Linked DNA regions of Homo sapiens: regions 2, 3, 4, 5, 6 and 7 are each linked to region 1. The links are contacts of gene promoters, found by promoter capture Hi-C in blood cells and fetal thymus (Javierre and others, 2016). All regions are on one chromosome and are shown on one strand. Each heading gives the region's core, a stretch centred on a gene start or on the middle of the fragment in contact. The rest is flanking DNA. Distances are from core to core; before and after follow the strand shown. Region 1 holds the start of WDR64 (WD repeat domain 64). Region 2 overlaps EXO1 (exonuclease 1). Region 3 has its middle 5.5 kb from the start of EXO1. Region 4 has its middle 23 kb from the start of EXO1. Region 5 has its middle 28 kb from the start of FH. Region 6 overlaps WDR64 (WD repeat domain 64). Region 7 overlaps WDR64 (WD repeat domain 64).

Evidence for each region. The method cuts DNA at HindIII sites, captures the fragments that hold promoters and counts their contacts. A CHiCAGO score of 5 or more calls a contact.
Region 2: a contact is called between a fragment that was not itself captured here and the fragment with the promoter of WDR64 in region 1, in 5 of 17 cell types (fetal thymus, monocytes, total CD4 T cells and 2 more). The highest score is 8.9, in fetal thymus.
Region 3: a fragment that was not itself captured here is called in contact with the fragment with the promoter of WDR64 in region 1 in 16 of 17 cell types (fetal thymus, activated CD4 T cells, non-activated CD4 T cells and 13 more); the score reaches 22.9 in fetal thymus.
Region 4: a fragment that was not itself captured here is called in contact with the fragment with the promoter of WDR64 in region 1 in 13 of 17 cell types (naive CD8 T cells, M2 macrophages, total CD8 T cells and 10 more); the score reaches 13.0 in naive CD8 T cells.
Region 5: a contact is called between a fragment that was not itself captured here and the fragment with the promoter of WDR64 in region 1, in 1 of 17 cell types (monocytes). The highest score is 5.0, in monocytes.
Region 6: a contact is called between a fragment that was not itself captured here and the fragment with the promoter of WDR64 in region 1, in 13 of 17 cell types (activated CD4 T cells, M2 macrophages, naive CD8 T cells and 10 more). The highest score is 13.0, in activated CD4 T cells.
Region 7: a contact is called between a fragment that was not itself captured here and the fragment with the promoter of WDR64 in region 1, in 10 of 17 cell types (naive CD8 T cells, naive CD4 T cells, total CD8 T cells and 7 more). The highest score is 10.3, in naive CD8 T cells.

The regions. Positions count from the first base shown.
Region 1 is chr1:241,650,643-241,654,032 of GRCh38, reverse strand. It overlaps WDR64 (WD repeat domain 64), which reads right to left and starts at 1,752. Exons shown (of 28, transcript NM_001367482.1): 1 at 1,404-1,752. The coding sequence starts at 1,548. The HindIII fragment of the contact is 1,763 bases long and covers 1,228-2,990 here.
Region 2 is chr1:241,881,579-241,884,968 of GRCh38, reverse strand. EXO1 (exonuclease 1) reads right to left here. Exons shown (of 16, transcript NM_130398.4): 14 at 2,952-3,053. Among named protein-coding and RNA genes, the nearest start is that of EXO1, 35 kb to the right of the region's middle. The HindIII fragment of the contact is 8,246 bases long and covers 1-3,390 here.
Region 3 is chr1:241,840,960-241,844,349 of GRCh38, reverse strand. No RefSeq gene overlaps it. Among named protein-coding and RNA genes, the nearest start is that of EXO1, 5.5 kb to the left of the region's middle. The HindIII fragment of the contact is 906 bases long and covers 1,022-1,927 here.
Region 4 is chr1:241,823,744-241,827,133 of GRCh38, reverse strand. No RefSeq gene overlaps it. Among named protein-coding and RNA genes, the nearest start is that of EXO1, 23 kb to the left of the region's middle. The HindIII fragment of the contact is 1,724 bases long and covers 786-2,509 here.
Region 5 is chr1:241,490,291-241,493,680 of GRCh38, reverse strand. No RefSeq gene overlaps it. Among named protein-coding and RNA genes, the nearest start is that of FH, 28 kb to the left of the region's middle. The HindIII fragment of the contact is 1,002 bases long and covers 1,090-2,091 here.
Region 6 is chr1:241,802,610-241,805,999 of GRCh38, reverse strand. WDR64 (WD repeat domain 64) reads right to left here. Exons shown (of 28, transcript NM_001367482.1): 28 at 3,223-3,390. Among named protein-coding and RNA genes, the nearest start is that of EXO1, 44 kb to the left of the region's middle. The HindIII fragment of the contact is 8,352 bases long and covers 1-3,390 here.
Region 7 is chr1:241,784,193-241,787,582 of GRCh38, reverse strand. The region is part of intron 23 of WDR64 (WD repeat domain 64); the gene reads right to left. Among named protein-coding and RNA genes, the nearest start is that of EXO1, 62 kb to the left of the region's middle. The HindIII fragment of the contact is 5,686 bases long and covers 1-3,390 here.

The sequences.
Region 1 (3,390 bases), core at 503-3,002:
CCATAGAGAATTCAGAAAAAGTGTCAAGGGTTTGAAAAACCAATTAGAGAGAGGTAAAACAAACTGACTAGGAAAAAATGCAAGTTTTGTTGAGTAGTTTAGAAGGCCCAGTCAAGTTCCCAATCACCGAAAAAGCATATCCAAAAGGTCCAAGTCTTAGCTTTAACACTTAGAAGTTGGGTGACTTTGGCCGGGCACGGTGGCTCACACCTGTAATCCCAGCACTTTGGGAGGCCATGGCAGGTGGATCACCTGAGGTCAAGAGTTCAAGACCAGCCTGGCCAACATGGTGAAACCCCGTCTCTACTAAAAATACAAAAAATTAGCCGGGTGTGGTGGTGGGTGCCTGTAATCCCAGCTACTTGGGAGGCTGAGGCAGGAGAATCACTTGAACCTGGGAGGCAGAGGTTGCAGAGAGCCGAGATCGCACCATTTCACTCCAGCCTGGGCAATAGGAATGAAACTCCGTCTCAGAAAAAAAAAAAAAAAGAAAAGAAAAGAAAAGAATTTGGGTAACTTGGGCAAATGATTTATCTTCAGCTCCCATTTTTTCCACAAATAAAATGAACATAATGACATTGATTAACATGACTATAAATTATTAAATACTATTCAATTAATACCAGCTTGGGTTTGAACACCCAAAGTCAAGATTTTCACTTACAAATTACTATGCAGCCTGGCACACTCAGAGGCTGGCTATACTATCCCTTTAGCAATTATATGGGCTCTGCTCCTTTCATTGCAACAGCAGGGTTTGTTCTGTTAGTCTTTCACTCTGCCATGTAGCTTTATTTTTCACAGCTGTCCTCAATACGCCAAAGCTGTACACTACACCACTCCCCTTGAATCTTGTCTATGCACTGGCATCTCTGCTGCAAATCCTCCTGTAAGACCACTGTCCACCATATTCTCCTTAGCTTGCATCCTCAAGATCATTCCTGCCTAGAGATATGGAGAGTGGCCAAGACAATGGAATCATGGTGAGGCAGGAAGCTGCACTTCTTATGAAAGTCTTTATGGTCTCATGATATCTTTAGGCTAAGAAAAAGCAGTGCTATACATTACTGAGCATCCCAGGTCAACCAGTGAGCCATCAAATGGCAGCGTCTACAGAAGAACACTGGACGTCATTTAATCCAATCCCATAGTTTTACAATTGAAGCAACTTCGGTTCAGAGAAGTAAAAAAAAAAAACAAAAACAAAAACAAAACAAAACAAAAGCTTCCTCATGTCCGCTTTGTTATTTAGGGACAGAGAAAGAACAAGAACTGAGGTCTTCATCCCCTTTCAGCACCCATTCTTTCACATTAAGCTCTGATGCTTCTCTCTGATGGCTTAAAACATTTTCCAGTTCTAACCAACAGACCCAATTGGACTATCGTGTAATCACTGATCTTACCTTCTTTATGGATAAATAAGCCTGCTCTTTCATCTCTTTTCTGGGCTGCTGTTTGTTCAACCAATTTTTCAAACCTGTTCAAAGCCTTTTTGAAATTGCTCATCTGAAGTGCCATGTTGAGACGCTTTTCCTTCCTGATATCCATAGGGACATAGGGGATCTTTTACTTCTGTACAGAAAGAATACTGCAAGTTTACCAATTTGGAAAACTTTCCAGTTGTTACAGTGCCTCCCTGCTGTCTCAGTTTTTGCCCTAGGTCTAATTCCTTTGATCTTAAAATCCCATAGTGCGGGTAGGAGTAAGAGTTGCCACTAGGATGTTAGCAGGGAGGAAAGCTGATTTAGGTCTGATGCATTTCATACAGACAAACATTTCAGTAAAAATCCTGACCTCACAATGTCATCAGTGTCCTTCATAGGGTCCTCATTGCATCATAATATCTCTGTAACATCCTACTTCCTTCATAAGGAGGAGATTGAGATATTTTTTTCCCCACAGACTGTGTGTGTGTGTGCGCGTGCACATGTGTGTGTTGTGTATACTGCTTGAGAGGGAAAAGGAATGAGTAAATAACAAGTAAGAAAACTGGGTAATACTTTCTCCCTCGTGTATCTCTTCTCACCTCAAACCTTTTGCCTTCCTCACAATACCGCGGAAAGTAAAGTTTGGCCAGGCACGGCGGCTCATTCTTGTAATCCCAGCACTTTGGGAGGCCGAGGTGGGTGGACCACCTGAGGTCAGGAGTTCAAGACCAGCCTGGCCAACATGGTGAAACCCCCGTCTCTACTAAAAATACAAAAATTAGCTGGATGTGGTGGCGGGCACCTGTGATCTCAGCTACTCAGGAGGCTGAGGCAAGAGAATCACTTGAACCTGGGAGTCAGAGGTTACAGTGAGTTGAGATCACACCACTGCACTCCAACCTGGGTGACAGAGTGAGACTTCCTCTCAAAAAAAAAAAAAAGTAATATTCACACTTATTCTTGCCACTGTACTGGATATGGAAATTCGAACTTCTAAAGATGAAATGTATTTCAGCACCTGTCATTTCTACCACAAACATTTTTAGAGGTCATAGGGAATACAAATGCTCTTCTTCCTTTGTGCATTGTCCTTCGATTGAAATAATAAAGTGAGCCAAGGATAAGGAAGGAGTGGCTTCTGATTATGAGGACAGCTTTTCAAGGTAAGAGGTCAGATGAATTAGAAGAGGCCTTTCTGCACATCTCCTTCCCAGTCATTGCAATCTCCAATCCGACTTAGTCCAAATGCTATTGACTCCGGTTTTCCAATTTTCAACTTTTTATGGGAAGGAGAAGTTGTTTAATGTTTCTCAACAATTAGTTAACTTCCTATGGCTTAGGTGAGTTAGATAAATTTCCTACCCCTTGGTAGTCCATCTTTTAAAACATTCTTCAAGAACTTGCATTCAGAGATGAAGCAGATGGCATTTCAGAGCACCTCCAATTCCAGTACTGTCTTCTTGGTGTCCACCTCTAACTATCTGTTAGGAGAGCGCAGTAAGATTTTATTTAAAGAAAAATCCCCCAACCCCATTTGTTTCTCCTCCTTTTTCCTTTAAAGCTTTCAAACCACTGTACAGTGATGTCTGGAGAACCACTCTTCCTACAATTCTAATGCATTCACCATTAATTCATCTAGGAAATATTTACTGAATACACACTTCATGCTAGAGGCTGTTTTAGACACTAAGGATACAGCAGTGAATAAAATAGCTTCTCAAGTTTATAGACTAATGCAGAAGACAGACAAACAAATAAATAATGTATCAGTGAGCAATTGTGCTACGAAGAGAGAGGAATTTTGTGTGTATTAGGGTGGGGGTAAAAATCAAAGTAAAAGAGGTAGGGAGATCAGGGAATTCCCCATTAATAGAAAGATTTCTGGGCAGAAACCTGAAAGAAGTGAGGTAGCAAGTCATGTGGATAAATGGTAGAAGGATGTTCTAGGGACAGCAGGCGTAAA
Region 2 (3,390 bases), core at 291-2,790, 230 kb before region 1:
CCCAAAGCGCTGGGATTACAGGCATGAGCCACCACACACGGCCAAACTATTCTTTATACATAAGAACAAAATAACCCATGAGCAATGGTAAAAATGTGCTATTTATAAAAGTCTATTACAGAAGTCATCATAAATTATTTTAACAGGTAATATGTAAACCTGGCATAAAATTTAAAAGTTCTCTCTTTTGTAAAGGAACAGAGAGCAAAATGAATGTCTCTCGCTGCCTCCCTTTCCAGAGGCAATTGCTGCTCCCAGCTTCCTATGCATCCACTGACTTACGTGCACGTGCACACACACACACACACACACACACACACAGGCAGCATAGTACACATTGTTGTGCACTTCATTTTTCTCACTTAATATATCTTGATTCCTCTTAATGATGTAACTTAGAGATTTTTTTCAGTTCACAGGAAATAGAATTTTATTTTGAATAGGTTGCCTGTTCTTGCATTGTATATATATGCCATAACTTACTTAAACAAACCTCTATTGACATTTAGGCTGTTTCTACTAAGGGTTGATTTTTACCCTGTGGACAGAATGGAGACAATGAAGTTTTGTTATTGTTTCTTAAGATAGTAAGAATGAGGTATATTAAAAAAGGTTTACAATATGAATCTGGCAGTGTGTGTAGGAAGAATGAAAAAGTTAAAACAAAATAAAGGTTCACACAGTAAAGATGAAATCCTTAAATATGTGTTGTGATGGGGAAAAAGTGAGGGAGAAAAAAGAAGGCAAAGAAATAAACGTTAGAATTTGGAGAGGTATCGATGTTTGGTTGTTTTTCTCTAACTGCTGTAGAAGGATCAAACTGACAGTTATCAAGAAAAAGGACAACCTTAGGATTTTGAAACTAAGTGGCAGATAATATAATTTTATTTAATAGATAAAACAAAAAACGTTCCGAGAAGAAATAGAGGTAAAAGACACGAGTTTGATTTTAGGTATTAAAGATGGGTATCAGGGAGAGCTCACCTGAAGGGTCACCAAAACAGAAGTGGTAGTTAAATCCCTGACAATGCAAATGTCTGAGAATAATAATAATAATATGATGGTTTACTATCTAGACATAACTCCTTCAGGAAAAGTACTTTCTACATCTCCAGTTCTATCCATCATTGTAAATAATTCTGCATGTATCTTTCCAGACTTCTTAATAGGATGCCACAAACATGCAAATGTGTACATGAATATTTTAAAGTATTTAAACAAAAACACTATACATATTGTTAATAACATATTTTTCCTTTTCACTAATAATGAATGTCTTTTCAAGTTAGTAGATATGATTGCAAAAAACTTCTTGCTCAAAAATTTAAAAAATAATCTCATATTTACATATTTCATATTTGTATCTTTAATGTACTGGAATTTGCTGTGGACTGAATGTTGTGTCTCCCTCACATTCATATTGAAGTCCTAACCCCTTAACTCCTAATGTGATGGTGGGATTTTTGAGAGGTGATTAGATCATGAGAGTAGAGCCCTCATGAATGAGATTAGTGCCCTTAAGAAGAGGTACAAAAGAGATATTCTCTCCCTCTACCATGTAAGGACACAGCGAGAAGGCATCTGTCTGCAAACCAGGAAGTGGGCTCTCACTCAGACCTTGGACTTCCCAGCCTCTAGAACTGTGAGAAATAAATATTTATCATTTAAGCAAATCCAGTTTCTGGTATTCTGTTATAGCAACCCATATTGACTACAGTAGAATTTACATTTATATTGTGTGAGACTACATCTTCTTTCAAATGGATAGCCAGGGCCATTTATTAAAATTTTAAAAAGTAAGAAGTTTTTATGCTACTAGAAACATAATATATGCTCATGGTAGAAAAACACAAGAAAAAGAACAGAAAAAAATTCACCTATATTTCTACCAGTAAGAGCTAAAACCAATGATTATTTAATAACTCACTCCCTTATTGTTATTTAGGTTATTTCCAATTTTTCACTATTATAACCAATGCAGTATTAAGTATTCTTGTATTTAAATTCTCAATGTTTCCTTAGGCTAAAGTTCTAGAATGCACTTACTGGTTTAAATTATTTGAACTCTTTCAAATTTTTTTCTAGAAATGGCAGACCAATACTTACTTTTTAAAACATGTGATTATCTCACTATACTCTCATAAAAAATGAGTATAATTAAAAACATTTTTTTGAAATATGAAGAGGCAAGAAACTATTTTATTATTTTAATTTGCACTACTTGATTACTAATGAGGTTAAACATACGGTTAAACAAATGAGGTTAAACACATATTAATCAACCATTGGTACTTTTCCTTTTGTGACCTGTTTATGACCTTTATCCATCTTTTAAGTTAGGAAATGGTGTTTTTATACTGATGAACAAGAACATTTAATATATAAAATATGCTTTAATTCGTGCTTAATATATAAAATATGCTTTACTATGTAGTAACACAAATATTTATATATTTTGATTCAACAAACCTAGTTTATCATGGGTACACAGTTTCTAGAAGGCCTTTTGGCAGTATGTATCAATGTTAAATCATACATGCCTTGGGACCAGTAATACCACTCCATGCAATTCATCCTTACAAACTAATCAAGAACATGTCCTCAAATATTTATCCACAAGATCTTGGTTGCAGTATTATTTGCTAGAGCAAAAAAATTTAGGGTAAATGACAAAAATAAGGGGATTGACCAAACCTATACAACTGCATATTATAAAGTCATTACATTAATGACTAAAAGTACTTGGAAAGTGATCTTTCATATACACTGCAAGAGAAAATAAGTTTCACAACTTAAACACCTACAGTCAAGCATAAAGTTTTAAAGTAGACATTTTTATATAAATGAGACTACAGGTATTTTGATTTTTAATTCTGCTTGTATTTCTCATTTTCTAGTTGTAAGCATACACCGCTTCTGAAATTAAAAAAAAAATTAAATAAATGTTTTACCTTGTTCCTTAGAGGTGTGTCTTTTTTTGAGAAATGAGATAAACGTAGCTTGGAGGTCTGGTCACTTTGACTGTCAAGTAACTTAATATTGCAATCAGATTCCTAGAGTCCCCAGATCAAAAAATAAAATAAAATTAGATTTTTACTGTAGAATTTTTATGACAACAAACTAATATTCAACAAAATGGAAGATAAATAAGAACATGGGATAGAATTAATAAAAGAAAATGAATAATATGGAAAGGATGATATTTGCCAATTTCATTGAAGAAGCTAACAAGATGTTTCAGCTGGAGAGGTAAATTATATAAAATATCTATTTAAAATTAAAGTCTTTTCTGAACTGTTAGAAGAGGATGTTAAAATGCTGAGTCAGATAAAACAAGAGTCTCCTAATGTAAAAACGCTGCGTTACGCACGTGTGGTTAAGTTTTCATCT
Region 3 (3,390 bases), core at 225-2,724, 190 kb before region 1:
TTTACTCAACATCATGTTTGTGAGATTCATCTGTATTATCGAGAGCACCTATAGTTTGTTTTTTGTTTGTATTTCAATGTAGAATTCCATTATGTAAGTACATTATAATTTATTCATTCCACTATTGATAGATATCTGAGTGGTTTCAAGATTCTATTACTACTGCTTCTGTGAACATTCTTGTAACTTCATGTGCATGTGACTTCAACTCCCACTCTTCTTGCTCTTGCCCACTCTACTTTAGCCATCTAGCCTCCGTGCCATTCTTTGAATATGCCAGGTACACTCCCACCTCTAGGGCTTTGCATACGCTGTTCCTTCTTCCCAGAATGCTCTTCCAACAGATAGCCCCGTAGCTTGGTCCTTTACTTCGCTCAGTAATACACATAGGTTTCTTCTCAGTGAGATATTCTCCAATTATGCTATTTAAAATTGCAATTCCTAGCCCTACTTTGGGATACCTAATTTTCCTTTCCCTGATTTATTTTTCTCCATGATACATACAATTGGACAAATTACATATTCTAGTTATCTATTTGTTAATTGAGCATCTCTCACCTCACTATAATGAAAGCTCTATAAGAGCAGGGATTTTTACCTATCTCCTATAACATTGTCTGGCACATAGTAAACTCCAGTAAACTTCTGGTTGAATAGACAAATGAATATTGAAATTAGCTAACAGCCTGGATCTAAAAGAGACACTGATGTTTTTAGAACTTAGATGTTTGGGCAATATAGCTGTTTTCAAAGCTGTTTTACAGTGAAATTAAACAACTCCAAAGTTATCAGGATGAGTATTATTTGAATAATCTAGGACAGAGAATGCAGAAAGAGTAAATGCTGTCCTCATTCCCTACTGCAGAGGGAAAACGATTTTAAATAGCCTCTGTTTTTGTCCTTCACCAAAAAAAAAAAAAACTATGAAATGCATTTTTGCAGAATGACACTTCTAAAAAATATTATCTCTGGCTCCAAAATATACATTTTAGGGAAACTGGCATAGGTCTTTGGCAAAGCTTTCTTGGAGGTGATTGATATATTAGCATCGACAGTACCTATCTATCTAAATAATAAGTGTTACTATTAGAGTCTTGAATTATAATACTTAGGGAACAATTAGTATTTTTCAGGTTAGTTGTATATATTTACATCCTTAATTTGTTTACCACTCCTAACGATGCTATGAGGATGGCACATTTGTTATCCCCATTTTACAAGTGCGACAGCTGAAGTACAAAGGGATTTGAACCCTGTGTAGTTTGGCTGTGGAATCTGCTTTTAACTTACCTTTGGATAGCTAGCATATGTATTTATCTGTGGAGAGATAGATATTATGTTAACATTTTCAGAGTTACCAATTGACTAAATCCCCTTTGGATGATTTGGGAAAAAGAAAGAAAAGGAACAACTTTTTTTATAATCTACCATGTTTTGCATGTGCTACCTCATGTAATCCTCGTAATAGCTCTGGAAGATAACTATTGCTACCCTCATTTACAGAAGAAAAAAGCGGAAGCAGAGAGAAGCAGGTAATAGTGTCATAGACCTAAAGCTGTTATGTGATGTGATTCAAGCTAGTATCTGTCTGACTCCAAATGGCTATATTCTTCACTATGACACATAGTGGGAAGAATGTACCCAGTGAATAGCAAAGATCCAGAGAGGAGGAGGAATACATAGTTCCAGCTGGTAGCAGGCTGTCATGGAGTTGTGGAATCAAAAAGACAATAGGCACAATCCTGAGAATGTTTGGATCCAAAGATACATTTTTCTGACCTTGGCCTTCAAAGCTACTCCCAGGTGAGCTCAAGGTGAATGAGTGGGAGAGGGCCTCTGCAATCACAGCCAGGCTAACTCTTCATTCTTGTATGAGATCTTTAATAAGTCATACATCCTGGGCCCAGTGGTTCAGACTGAGGAAGCTTCTCTTCTTACCGTTGGAGCAGCACTTGCTTCTCTCATGATTTTCAGTGTTACCACGACTTTCTCATGGCCCAAGTGAATTTGCTTATCTCCATGCTTCAACTTTTTGCTTATCTCCATGCTTCAACTTTTTGCTTTTGTTTTTTTAAAAAAATTAAAAATACAAAAAGTTCAGAGAATGCTACCCACTTTCTTGGTGAACTTGGGACTTAGTCATAGGAGTGAAATGGATATTGCTCTTTTGACTTTAATGACAAAGTGTGACTTGCAATGGGATATCAGAATAATAGTTCCAAAGTGGTAAGCTGCTGAAGGACACCCACTCACTAGGTAGCAAAAAGGGACATTTCTATTGAAAACTCAGTGAAATATAACCTGGAACAATGAAATAGACATCAATACATCAACACAGTGAGAATTACAGCCAGCAACAGAATGCTTAGTGAGGAGAAATACAAGATGGAGAGGCTCAGCTAAACAAAGGCGTCACATTGATTATAAAGCTAAGAGTGGTCCTTGTATGGTAAGTGCCAGATTCCGCATGAAGCAGCTGGTCTCAGAATAAAAGAGTAATGAATTTCTGTCCACTTATTGGTCTTTCAGCCTCCAGGGGACTTACTCAGCCAGCAGTTCTATTTTCAGAAGCAGAGGATAAACACATGCTTTAATTCCGTCATTTAAAATCTAATAAGTATTTTTAACAAACATCTGTGGCCAGTTTTTCCATTGGTCTTTTGTATATCTATATATACATCTATCAGTATATCTCCATAGATAGCTTCCATTATCCCTTTTATACCAGCTCAGTTAAGAGCTTAATGTCTAGCCTACCTTGCTTGAATTCAAATCTGGGCTGTGTAATGTATTAGCTGTTAATTTGCTGACTTTAGAAAAAGTTCCCCATCTCTTTATTTGATTGGGGTGACCGCGGAGCATAATGTAACCTCTGAAATGACTTAAACCAAGACTGCACTAGTCTAAGTGAGCCATTGCACATTGACCCAATAATTTGATCAACAGAATAAAATGAAAATAAATAAATAATTTTCCATTTTCCTTATTTGAAAACTGGGAGGAACAATAGAGCTAATTGAACTGCTTCATAAGATCGTGAAGATTACATGAGATAATCCATTTAAATTGTATAGAGTCTAGTGTCTGGACTGCGACACTCAACAGTGAAGTGAGAAAAAGCCCCCAAAACGTAGTCATGGACACGATGTATAGTTTGTCAAGAGCTTTCACATGCATTTCCATTTGGTCTTCAGAAGACGAGGCCTGGATCATTCAGTGGCTCACCTAATATCACAGAACAAGTGGTGGAGTCAGAATCTTTTATCTAAAGGAGATATTTTCATCCTTAGATTAATGTCCTCTTCACAGTCTCATGCTACTTTCCTTTAAAATGAAATTGCTGTTCTTTTTTTAATTGATTTGGCCAACTTCATTTGTAACGGAAGAATC
Region 4 (3,390 bases), core at 398-2,897, 170 kb before region 1:
TCAGGAAATAAGAGAAGAACCAGTAATCTGGAAATTTCTTCGTCTTTTCTTCCCCTCTTCTCCCTAATACTTCTGTCCTTCTACATTTTCCTTAAGGCCTTTTCCTCACCCACTACCCCCACAACAGTCAAATTGCATTTGAGATTTCTGGAAATTGATTAGACTAAAACTGACTCTGGGGAAAATAAAAATACTATAAATAAAAAAAGAGGCCAGGTGCAGTGGCTCACGCTTGTAATCCCAGCACTTTGGGAGGCCGAGATGGGCAGATCACCTGAGGTCAGGAGTTCAAAACCACCCTAGCCACCGTGGTGAAACCCCGTCTCTACTGAAAATACTAAATTTAGCCAGGCGCAGCGGTGGGTGCCTGTAACCCCAGCTACTCAGGAGGCTGAGGCAGGAGAATCACTTGAATCCAGAGGCGGAGTTTTCAGTGAGCCGAGATCGCATCACTGCACTCCAACCTGGATGACAGAGCAAGACTCCATCTCAAAAGAAAAAAAAAAAAAACACAAATGCTCAGTGATATGGTTTGGCTGTCCCTTCTGAATCTTATGTTGAAATGTGATCCCCAGTGTTGGAGGTGGGACTTCAGTGTTTGGGTCACGGAGGCAGATCCTTCATGAGTGGCTTGGTGGCATCCCCATGGTAATGAGTGGGTTCTTGCTCTGGTAGTTCACCTGAGACCTGATTGTTTAAAAGAGCCCAGAACCTCCCTCCCTCGCTTGCTCTCTCAGCATTTAATATGCCTGCTCTCCCTTCACCTTCCACCATGATTGGAAGCTTCCGGAGGCCCACTAGAAGCAGATGCTGGCACCCTTCTTCCTATATAGTCTTCAAAACTGTGAGCCAAAATAAACCTCTCTTCTTTATAAATCACCTAGTCTCAGGTATTCCTTTATAACAAAGAAAATGGACTAACACACTCAGTCTTACTAGTCATTTAGGAAACTGGAATTAATGCCAGATAACATTTTGAACAAGTTTTAAAAGGGAAGTGGTGTAGTCAGAATGCTTTCTATTTAAAAGCAGCTTAATTTGATATGAAATTTAAATGTGGTATATAACTCTCTGAATATATATCATAATGCACATAATTCAGAGTTTAGATTTTTAAATACCAAAATAATGGCACTACATCAAGAAAAATACCAAAAGAATACTTGGTTCTTTAAAAATAGCATCATATTCTGGAATACCAGAATACCACAAGACTACATTTCAATCATTTGTTAAGTCAAGGTTGCAAAGACTAACAGGCAGATTAGCAGTGTGAAACACCAAGCTGGCAACTGGAGGAAACCCAGGAGATGGGACTAAGTTGCCCAGGATAGTGAAAAGGGCCTGGGTTTGGAGTCAGAAGACCTGGGTTTGAAGTTCTGAGTTTCACTTTCTTTTACTCACTATGGCCATTGGATTTTGGCCAGGTTCTTCCAATCTCATGTGGCCTTATTTTCTTCAATACAATGAGCATAGTAGTATTGCTCTGCTTATCCCCCAGGGCTGTTGTAAGATAATATAAATAAAATATTGCTAATAAAAGCTATAAAGAGGAGATCCTAGGGTCTAAGGATAGAATTATCCTTTATTTAAACATGTTAATGTTGGAAAAGAAACATCATTTGATTTTGCTCTCAAACACTGCATAAAGGATGCTCTGCTACCACATCGCTCTTTCTTGAATATTCCCTTACTTCTATTTAGATATAAATTGAGAGAAAATTTTGAGCTACAGAATGAGAAGTGTCCTCCTTCACTAACCGTGCTAACTGGTATGTTTCATGAATATCATTTTCAATTTCTAGCCATTGTCATCTCCATTTAGAAGGAAGTGTTCTGAATTTTTTCTAAAAAAATAGCTTTTTTTTTTTTTTTTTTTTTGAGACAGTCTTGCTCTTGTCACCCAGGCTGGAGTGCAATGGCACGATCTTGGCTTACTGCAACCTCCGCCTCCCATGTTCAAGCAATTCTCCTGCCTCAGCCTCCCATGTAGCTGGGATTACAGGCGCCTGCCACCATGCCTGGCTAAAAAATAGCTTTTTATACCAGTGTTTGAAGTTAAAGGTCTAGTTTTGTTTAATATATACACTGTGGGTTCTCCTTCCATTATTTCGAAGCAAACCTCATACATCATCTCAATGCAACCTTTGAATGTGATGTTTGATTTGAATTGTCATGGATTCCTGGGTATCTGTTGGCTTTATACCCTGTGGCTGATCCTAGGTCCTTACCCCTCTCCCACATCCCCACCTCCTGTCCCTTCCCTTCATCTTGAAGTTTCACTGGGCATAGAAGCCTTGTGTGGTTTGTTTGCTTGGAAAGGGAGGTGGGCTATTTTCTAGCTGTCACCCTGCCTCATTCTTGTTTGGTCCTGCCTTGTTTTGCCCTCTCCCTCCATCTTTGAGCTGTGGCTCCAGGAGTGCCTCTACCCCTTGCTGGTATTTATCTTCCCTGAGCTGGATTCTCACCCTCTTGAAGGGACAGTGGCTTGGACTTGACCTTCTAAGCTTTCCTGACTTTTGCTTCTTCAGGCCGGTCACAACCTAGTTCCAGCCCCTCAAATCCCAGCTCCTGGTGCCACTGGTTTACTGTCGCCTCAGTAAAGAGGAGAAAAGTACATGTGAATATGTGACTGCTTTCTCCCGCGCTGGGCCATCACTTCTCTTTCACTGGCTTCTTGACGTGTCCTCTGATGGCGTGCTTCCGGGCAGACTCACTCAGTCCAAAACTTCATGTCGAAGTCATAGTTTGAGCCAGGAAAAAGGCAGGAAGTATCCTTTTCTATCTGTGTTAAATGCTGCCATCCTTTCATTTAGCCTTTGCTCTCAGTTTTCTACAGTACTTTTAGGTCAGCAGCTCTTCCTCTTGACTTGCTTTTCAGAATCCATGCAGCCTCCTTTACCCAGCAACTGTAAGGAGGAACTGAGGGAGCATGACTCCCTGGGGCTAGGGTGGGAGACAATTTGAGTGACACTGGGTGTGTAGCATTAAAAAATGTCTCTCACAGATCCGCTGGCCTCTCCATTCCTGGAATGCCCTAGACCCTCTTTCACCTGGGTGAGTGGCTTCCTGATACACTATACAGTGTTAAGGGGAGGAAGGACTGTTATTTCCCAACTGTCCTGGAAGGGCTGTTTTGCCTTTAGAACCAGCCATTAGCCCCAAGACATCCAATCCTTGTCTTATTTTTGAGGCTAGGCCAATAAGCAAACAAAAGGGCCACCAGGCCTATCCCCACTTACCGCATCACATTACAGGCCCTGCCTTGCTAAGGGTCTTCAGCCGTACTGTGGACTTTGATGATCCAGAAGTGGCTACAGTGAAGATTGAGTGAACTGAATGCAAATTTAGGAGGCCTAAGATGTAGCTCCATTTTTGCCTTTCCCATTC
Region 5 (3,390 bases), core at 341-2,840, 160 kb after region 1:
TTTCATACTCATATTCCTAAGTTCCTATGTATATCTAAAGTACCCAGCACAATGCCTGCCCCAGTTAGCTTTCTAATTCCCTGGAGACAGTGGGCAAAATTGCTAAATGCTAAATTGATTTTAAGAGGGTGAAACAGGTAAAATGGGATTAGGCCATTTTTTTTTTCTTCAAGAAGAGACTATATAATTCTTCAAGAATTATATTACTTAACGATATAATTTATCATCCAACCTTGAAGCCTTTGAAGAATAAAAAAGAATAAAATAATTCAAGTTGTATAATTTTTGAAACTTACTGACCAAAAAATTGGTTTTATCACATTAGTGGTGCTCTAAATAGTGCTACTCAAAAGCTAATTTCAAAAATAATTATCTCCAGGTTGAGGTGGGAGGGTTGCTTGAGCCCAGGAGTTGGAGGCTGCAGTGAGCTATGATCATGTCACTGCACTCCAACCTGGGTGACAGAGGGAGACCTTGTCTCTAACAACAAAAAACACCAGTTTTCTCTCCAGTAGGGTCTTAATATTTTCACTTCTTCCATAAAACTGCCTACAATCTTCTTTAAGTTGCCTTTATGGTTAATAAATGTAAAATGTTGATATTTTCAGTGAACTCCTCTGTAGACTACAATATTTTTAATTGGGCAATTAGTCTCTCTACAGTTGCTGATGTACCGGAAAACCTCAGAGAAAATTCTACTAAATGAAAGATACTTTCAATACCATTTTTTGTACTGAAATGTATTAATAACTTAATATTTTCTTTTTGCTTCCACTCAGACTAACTTAATTTGATGACTAAAAAAAAAAAAAAAAAAAAAACCCAGAACTTGTTAAATAAAGTGTTCCTATTTACGGTTAATTTGCCATATTGAAATGCTGCAAAATTGTAAGGCTTCTCAAGTGATTCTATTCCAATAGAGAATACAAATTTGCACAACATTGTAAGTCAGAATTTCATCAAATAATTTTTCTCAAATGTGGAGATTTTTCAAGTTAAATCTCATGCATGATTTGACCTCTCACCATTTACTTTGTTCGGTTCTTGTTTTTGTTGAGACAGATTTCAATGTCTTCCTGTTGGCAAGCTTTTTCTCAATCATTGCAATTGAAATTTAAGAGACAAAAAACCCTGAAATTTTGGTGCTACACTTGTTAAATACCTAGATTAAAGATTTCCAACTGTATTAGTTTCCTGTGGCTACCATACACATCACCACAAATTTGATGGCTTAAAACAACAGAAATTTATTATCTCACAGTCCCGGAGGCCAAAAGGCTGAAATCAGTTGCACAGGGCTGGTGCTTGCGGCAGTCCTTCACCCATGGGTATATCACTCCAGTCTCTGATCTCATGGTCACATTGCCTCCTCCTCTTCTGCTTGTGTCAGATTTTCCTCTGTCTCCCTTATAAGAACAAGGACACATGTGATGGCATTTAGGGTCCACTAGGATAATATAGGACAATTGCCCAGTCTCAAGATCCTTAATCACATCTGTGAAGCCCTTTTTGGCCATATAAAGTAACGTTCACAATTTTTAGGAGTTACGACTTATATATCTTTGACAGCCATTATTTGGTCTGATACACTAAATATTAAACAAATTACTGCTGGGCACAGTGGCTCACGTCTGTAATCCTAGCACTTTGGAAGGCCGAGGCGGGTGGATTGCCTGAGTTCAGGAGTTCGAGACCAGCCTGGGCAACATGGTGAAACCCCATCTCTACTAAAATACAAAAAATTACTTGGGCAAGGTGGTGTGCACCTGTAGTCAGCTACTTGGGAGGCTGAGACACAAGAATTGCTTGAACCCAGGAGGCAGAAGTTGCAGTGAGCCGAGATTGCACCACTGTACTCCAGTCTGGGCAACAGAGCGAGACTCTGTCTCAAAAAAAAAAAAAAAAAAAAAAAAAACCCACAAAACGAAAGTTTAGAAGATACATTCACAAAACGAAAGTTTAGAAGATACATTCACGAAACTATTCCACTGTAGGATGCTTAAGATGATTTATGAAGTAATTCTAAAAGCTGGAGGAAATGTGTGTACCACCAACCTATTTTGTTTTTGACATCAGCTTTATCACAAAGCTTTTTGATTCAGTTACTCTAAAATTGTATATAAAAATAGTGATACACGTTGACAAAGACAGTCTCTATTTCAATTGGGAAAATATCACAGCTTGTTTGAATTGTGTTTGGACCACAACCAGTTCCAAATACACTTTTGTTCCACCGGCTTCTTAATTTAGTAAAAACATTGCTTTTACAACAACTGTGTGCTCCACCAAAATAAGTCTCTGTATTACTTCTATATCAAATTACTTTATCTTCAGTATCTTCAGTGTTGAAGTTTTTAATAGAACTTAACAATAACATGCACGATATTGTTTCACCTTCAACACCTCAACAAAAATAACTTCCAGATATTACTGGAAATAATTGACTTTCTATTTGAAACGTGATGACTGATATAAAGATGGCATTATTTAACTCTTCTACTGATGAGTAAAACATGAATTAGACCATGAACAGGACATGTATTTATAGTCTAAAAGCTGACATAAAAAGCCAGAGCCTCGCCTTGTTTGACCCTGGCTGGGAATGTGCACATCAAATGGCCCACATTTTTTGCCACTCTGTGCATGTTCACAAATGACTGCAAAAGCACCAGAAGTACTGATTTTGGGGTAACATTTTTGTGAGTAAGTGAATTAGCAAATATGGAATCTGCGAATTTTGATGATTGATTGTATTACTGAGCTCTTTTCGAAGAAACAGGTATAAATTGATGGTGCTACTAGCAATTGTATGAGGATTCTTTTTCAGCCAACAATTATCATTGTCATTTCAAAAAATTGCTGAACTAAAATTTTAAGTACCTTATGGTTTTATTTGAATTTCTTTGATTAATATCATAGTGACAAATTATTTACATATTTATCAGTCATTTGTTTTTCTATAAATTTCCTGTTCCTTAACTTTATTTTTCTCTTAGGATGTTAGTGTTTTTATATGCATTTGAATGAATTTCGTATGTATGAAGTTCATAGACCCTATGACATATTTCATGTAAATATTTTTTTCCCAGTTTTCTGTTTGCCTTATAACTGGGTGTGCAGAATGTTTTGGCATGCAGAAAATTTGCATTTTTCGTAGCATTCTCAAATCCATCAAATTTTTCCTTCAGCTCTTTCATGATATTTGGAAAGAAAGGAAAGAGGCAGGTCTTTAGCTTGAAGGACTAGGAAAGTCCAGGAAAGTTTTACTCCTGCTTATTTTCCCTCTTCCTTTCCTTTCTTCCTTCCTTTCTTCCTTCTCTTCCTTTTTTAAAAAGATACTAAACCCTGAACTTTTTACTGATAAAGAGACTTGAAGTGAAAATACACCGA
Region 6 (3,390 bases), core at 327-2,826, 150 kb before region 1:
TATATCTTCCTTGATGAGATGTCTGTTAAAGTCTTTGGCTCATTTTAAAATTGAGTTGTTTGTGTTCTTACTGTTGGGTTTTTTGTTTGTTTGTTTGCTTTGAAACAGAGTCACACTCTGTCATCCAGGCTGGAGTGCAGTGGTGCGATCTCAGCTCACTGCCACTGTAATTTTCACCTCCTACGTTCAAGTGATTCTCCTGCCTCAGCCTCCCAAGTAGCTGGGACTACAGGGACGCTCCACCATGCCCCGCTAATTTTTGTATTTTTAGTAGAGACGGGGTTTCACCATGTTGGCCAGGCTGGATTCGAATGCCTGACCTCAGGCAATCTGCCCAGCTTGGCCTCCCAAAGTGCTGAGATTACAGGTGTGAGCCACCACGCCTGGCCTACTGTCGAATTTTATTATTTATGTTTATTTATTTTGAGGCAGAGTCTTGCTCGGTTGCCCAGGCTGGAGTGTAGCGGTGCAATCTTGGCTCACTGTCACTGCAACCTCTGTCTTCCAGGTTCAAGCAGTTCTCCTGCCTCAGCCTCCCGAGTAGCTGGGACTACAGGCATGTGTCACCATGACTGATAATTTTTGTATTTTTAGTAGAGATGGGGTCACCATGTTGGCCAGGCTGGTCTGGAACTTCTGGCCTTAAGTGATCCACCCATCTTGGCCTCCTAAAGTGCTGGGATTACAGGCCTGAGCCACCATGCCTGGCACTGTAGAGTTTTAATAGTTCTTCTTATATATTAGATAACAGTTCTTTATCAGATGTGTCTTTTGCAAACATTTTCTCCCAGTCTTTGTCTTGTCTTTTCATTCTCTTGACAGTGTCTCTTACAGAGCAGATAATTTTAATCTTAATGAAGTGCAGTTTACAAAGCCAGGCATGGTGGCTTATGCCTATAATCTTAGCATTTTGGAAGGCTGAGGTGGACGGATTGCCTGAGCTCAGGAGTTTGAGACCAGCCTGGGCAACATGGCGAAACCCTGTCTCTACTAAAATGCAAACAAGTAGCAGGGTGTGGTGGCATGTGCCTGTAGTCCCAGCTACTTAGGAGGCTGAGGCACGAGAATTGCTTGAACCTAGGAAGTGGAGGTTGCAGTGAGCAGAGATTGTGCAATTGCACTCCAGCCAGGCGACACAGCAAGACTCTGTCTCCAAAAAAAAAAAAAAAAAAAAAGAGAGAGAGAGGCTCTATTTATGAGGTGAACTTTATCAATTCCTTATTTCATAGATTGTGTCTTTGGTGTTGTATCTAAAACATCATTACCAAATTGAAGGAAATTTAAAATTTCTCCTATGTTACCTTCTAGGAGTTTTACAGTTTTACATCATACATTTAGGCTTATAATCCATTTTGAGCTAATTTTTGGGAAGGATGTAAGGTTGCTTCTGAATTCATTTTTTGCACGTGGATGTCCAGTTGTTCCAGCAGCATGTGTGGAAGTGTATCTTTTTCTCCATTGTGTTATCTTTGCTCCTTTGTCAAAGATCAGTTGACTGTATTTATGTGGGTCTGGTGCTGGGCTCTCTATTCTGTCCCATTGATCTATTTCTTATGTCTGTTGCCAGTACCACACTGTCTTGATCACGATAGCTTTATACTAAGTCTTGATATCAGTCCCCCAACTTTATTCTTCTTCTTCAACATTGTGTTTGCTATTCTGTGTCTTTTGCTTCTCCATATTAGCTTTAGAATCAGTTCCTCAATATCCCCAAAGTAATTTTCTGGGGTTTTGGTTGGGATTGCATTGAATTTTTAGATCAAGTTGGGAAAAACTGACATCTTGATGATATTGAATCTTCTTACCCATGAACATGGAATATTTCTCCTTTATTTAGTTACTTGATTTCTTTCATCAGAGTTTTGGGGTTTTCCTCATATAGTTCTTCTACATATTTTGTTAGGTTTTTGCCTAAGTATTGTGTTTTTAATTTCAATTCCACGTGTTCATTGCTGGTAAATAGGGAAGCAATTGACTTTTGTGTATTAATCTTGCATTCAACAACCTTGGGTATAATTGATTATTAATCCCAGGAGGGTATTTTTTGTTTTTGGTTGAATCTTTCATCTAATATGGTTCTGATTAGCATTACCTTGATTACTATTAAGAAAGTTGAGCATTTTTTAATATATGTATTGACTATTTGCATAACCTCTTCTCTGAAGTGTTAGTTCATGGTTTTTTTTTTTTTTTTTTGCCTATCCTACTGGATTGCCTTGATTTTTCTTATTGATTTGTTGGAGTTCTTTATATATTTTAGATATAAGTCCTTTCTTAGTTACAGGTAATGAAAATCTCTGCCATTCTACAGCTTGCCTTTTTTCTTTCTTAATAGTCTCTCTTTGGTAAACAGGAATTTTAAACTGTAATATAATTCAATTTACCTATCTTTTCTTTTGTACTCAGTGCTTCAAGAGATCTTGTAGCTTCTGTTTTTGCCTTCTTGAAACCATCAGATCATTATGTGAAGAATTGTGGTCTCGCCTCTTTGTGTTTTTGTTTTGTTTTGTTTTGTGTTTGAGACAGGATTTCGCTCCCTCACTCAGGCTGGTGTGCAGCGGTGCGATCTCAGCTCACTGCAGCCTTGACACCCCAGGCCCAAGTGATCTTTCCACCTCAGCATCTCCAGTAGCTGGAACTACAGGCCTGTGCCACCACACCCAGCTAATTTGTGTATTTACTGTAGAGACAGAGTTTTGCTATGTTGCCTAGGCTGGTCTCAAACTTCTGCGCTCAAGTGATCCTTCCACCTCAGCCTCCCCAAGTTCTGGAATTACAGACTGTAATCTGGCCCCTTGGCTCTTTGGAGATGAGAGATCACACAGAAAGAGAAGTCCAGCCAGTAGTCAGCATCAAACACAAGGAGGCCGTCTTAGACCATTTAGACACTCACTGCAGTTGTGTGAGTGGCACCAGGTGAGACCAGAAGAAATGCCCCGGTGGAGCCAGCCCACATTGCTGACCCACAGAGTCATGAGCAAATACATGATTGCTGTTGCGAGCCACTCAATTTTTTTTCATTGTTTGTTATGCAGCAATAGATGACTAGTATAGAAAGAACTTACATCTTTACAATATTGAATCCTCAAAGCCATGAACATAAATATACCTTTGCATTTATACAGAGTTCCTCAAAGTTTTCTCTAAAATGTTATATTGATTTCTTCATTAAACTTTTTTCCCTCCTCTCTTTTAGTATGGAAAAAAATGAAAACACTCAGAGAATTTGAAAGAGTTCTTTAATGAATACCTGTATTCCTACCACCTAGATTCCATAATTAATGTGGTTTTAGATATGCTCTAACACATATCCATCTATCAGTCCATCCCTCTATCCATTAGTTCATCTTATTTTTTTGATTCATTTCAAAGTAAGTGGAAGACACTAGT
Region 7 (3,390 bases), core at 311-2,810, 130 kb before region 1:
AGTGATTCTCCTGCCTCAGCTTCCCGAGTAGCTGAGATTACAGAAGCCCACCACCATACTTGGCTAATTCTTGTATTTTTAGTAGAGACGGGGTTTCACCACTTTGGCCAGGCTGGTCTTGAACTCCTGACCTTATGTGATCTGCCCGCCTTGGCCTCCCAAACTGCTGGGATTATAGGCATGAGCCACCATGTCCGGCCAACATTTTTTTTTTTTTTTTTTGAGGAGTCTCGCTCTGTCGCCCAGGCTGTAGTGCAGTGGTGCCATCTCGGCTCACTGCAAGCTCCGCCTCCTGGGTTCATGCCATTCTCCTGCCTCAGCCTCCCGAGTAGCTGGGACTACAGGCGTCCACCACCATGCCCAGCTACTTTTTTTTTTTTTTTTGTATTTTTAGTAGAGATGGGGTTTCACCGTGTTAGCCAGGATGGTCTCAATCTCCTGACCTCGTGATCCACCCGCCTCGGGCTCCCAAAGTGCTGGGATTACAGGTGTGAGCCACCGTGCCTGGCCTCCAGCCAACATTTTTATCAGTTAGACTGTAGTCTGCAAACTTTTTGGGAAATATTAGTTTGAATCTGTACTTATGACACCCATTTGTCAAAGCCAGAAAACAAATGGGCAGTGTTATTTCAGGATAATAAAACTGCATTTGGTTGCTAAGGGTAATGGCCTCTAGCTCCATCCATGTCCCTGCAAGAGACATGATCTTGTTCTTTTTTATGGCTGCTTAGTATTCCATGTTGTGTGTATACCACATTTGCTTTCTTTCTATTTTCTTTTGGGAAAATAACACTGCCCGTTCAAGCTAATCAGAACACTTGTTAACTAACAGTGTATTCATTGAATTAGGCCTTAGAATGGGCTGTATCTCAGCTGGCTACTTTTCAAATCAGCATCAACCAAACTTAAGGGAGGAGGGATCTCATGCTGCTTTTACTATTATCAAATTCTCCTCAACCTCCATCCACAGCTGCTACTATTGTGCAAATACCCTGCTAATTTTTACAACTGAGTTCTGAAAGAGGATGGCAAGAGAAGGGACTCGTTATCCATATGCCTTGTTTCACTATCACTTCACTCCAAGAGGTCCCTCTAAATAGCCCATGTGGTTTAAAGTAATACAGAGTATTATTAGCAGGAGTGTGTGCCCTAGGCCATATGGGAACATAAAATAGTATTTGGAAGATCTTCCTTTTATTTATTGATTTCAACCTCAGAGTGGCAAATGATGGCAATCATCATCATGAGCCCTGCAGCAATGACCTAAAAGGAGGAGGGCAAGCAAGCTAAAGAAACTAAGAGTAGATTCTGCAAAGTCTGAATAGCCTCCCACCTCAGAGAGGTAGATGTTGAGAAGGAGGCAGAAACAGAGGTATCTATTTGGGACTTCTCCCACTTGACAGTGTCCTGGGGAATTAACATGAGCATCTTCTATCCCTTCCATGTATTAATTCTCCAGCATTATAAAAATGTCATGGCCTGGCCAGAACCTTTACCAAAGAGAAATAGACCAGCCCTTTAATAGTAAAATTTAGAAGGGTGAGGGGCTAACTTCGGAACAATTCTAAATTTATTCTGCTTTAGGCAGGACTGAAGAGACTGTAGTCTCCTTGTTTCCTGCTATGCATGGAGCTCTCCCAAATAACTAATCCTGCTTCCCAGCTTGATTTCCTGGGCCTCAGATACAGAACCTTAGCTACCTTGAGCCCCACTTTGCCTCCCTGAACTTCTGTCTACAGACTGATCACCTGTCCTGCATCCCAGAGTTCAGCCTCAATTATGTTTGTTTCATATTTAAAAATCTCATCTTTTTGACAAGCAAGATTTAGAACGTTGAAACTGCCTAACTCTTTAGAGAGTGGCAGTGAGTATTAGCAAAGGGACATGGCTTGGTTATGAAGACAGTTGTGTTCTGAGGTAGCTATTAATAGATGTAAGCACTTTGAACTGAGTATCTAGGGAGATTTTCACTGTAAGAAATCATAAAATTAATTTCTCCATGCCAAGGATAACTGGAGTGAGCAGTGCTATGGCGTGAATGTTTTTGTCCACCTGCCAAATTCATATGTTGAAACTTAATCCCCGAAGTGGTGATATTGATGTGAAATGGGACATGCTTAGGTCACAAGGGCTCAGTCTTCATGAATGGAATTAGTGTCTTTTAAAAAGAGGCCCGAGGGAGCTTGTTTGCCTCTTTCACCATGTAAGGACACAGCTAGAGGGCATCATTTATGAAGCAGAGAGCAAGACCTCAGTAGACGCTGAATCTGCCAGCGCCTTGATCTTGCACATCCCAGACTTCAGAACAGTGAGCAATAAATTTCTGTTGTTTATAAATTACCCAGTCTAAGGTATTTTGTTACAGCTGCCTGAACAGACCAAGACAAGCAAGGAATACCTTACAACAACAGTGGCATGTACATATGTGGTTGTGCCATGTGTGTGCGTCTGTGTGTGTGTTACAAACTCAAATGAACACTTCTGCTCATAGGTAGCTGAAAATAAGCTGGAGCAGAGACCAAGGGACTGAGTTGTTAAAAACATCTATAATAATGACATTTAATGTTCTTACTCTTTCCTGCAAATAAAACAGCAGATGTCCTTTCTTTTTTTTTTTTTTTTTTTTTTTCAGACAGAGTCTCACTCTGTCGCCCAGGCTGGAGTGCAGTGGCGTGATCTCGGCTCACTACAATCTCCGCCTCCCAGGTTCAAGTGATTCTTTTGCCTCAGCCTCCCAAGTAGCTGGGATTACAGGCTCATGCCACCACGCCCGGCTAATTTTTGTATTCGCAGTAGAGACAGGGTTTCACCATGTTGGTTAGGCTGGTCTCCAACTCCTGACCTCGTGATCCACCCGCCTCGGCCTCCCAAAGTGCTGGGATTACAGGCGTGAGCCACCACACCCAGCCCAGATGTCCTTTCTTACAGAGGAAGTAACTCTGACCTTTTGCCTCCAAATAGGACCTTACTCCCAAAGATTCATCTTGAATTCAACGTTCTAAAGCTCTTTATCCTTCCACATTCTAAACATTTTCCTCTTTTAGAGCCCTGTATCTTAATGAGTGGTTCTAACATTCACCTAGTTGCATAAACCAGGTGTCATTCTTGACATTTATCACTTACCTCCCCTTTGAGTTAAAGTTCACGTCTTCTTGATTTTGCCTTCTGGATAGCTATCATCAAATCTAAACCACTTATTTCCAGGCTGTTACCACTCCTCTAATCCAAGCCACTACATTCACCCTGGACTTCAAACCGGTCTCTTTGCTCCCACTTTTGCTGCCCTGCAATCTATTCCCCACCCATTACCTTCCAAAAATATAAATCAGGTCATATTACTCCCCCACGTAAAATTCTGTGCAGTGGCTATTTCTTTCAGGGGAAGGATCC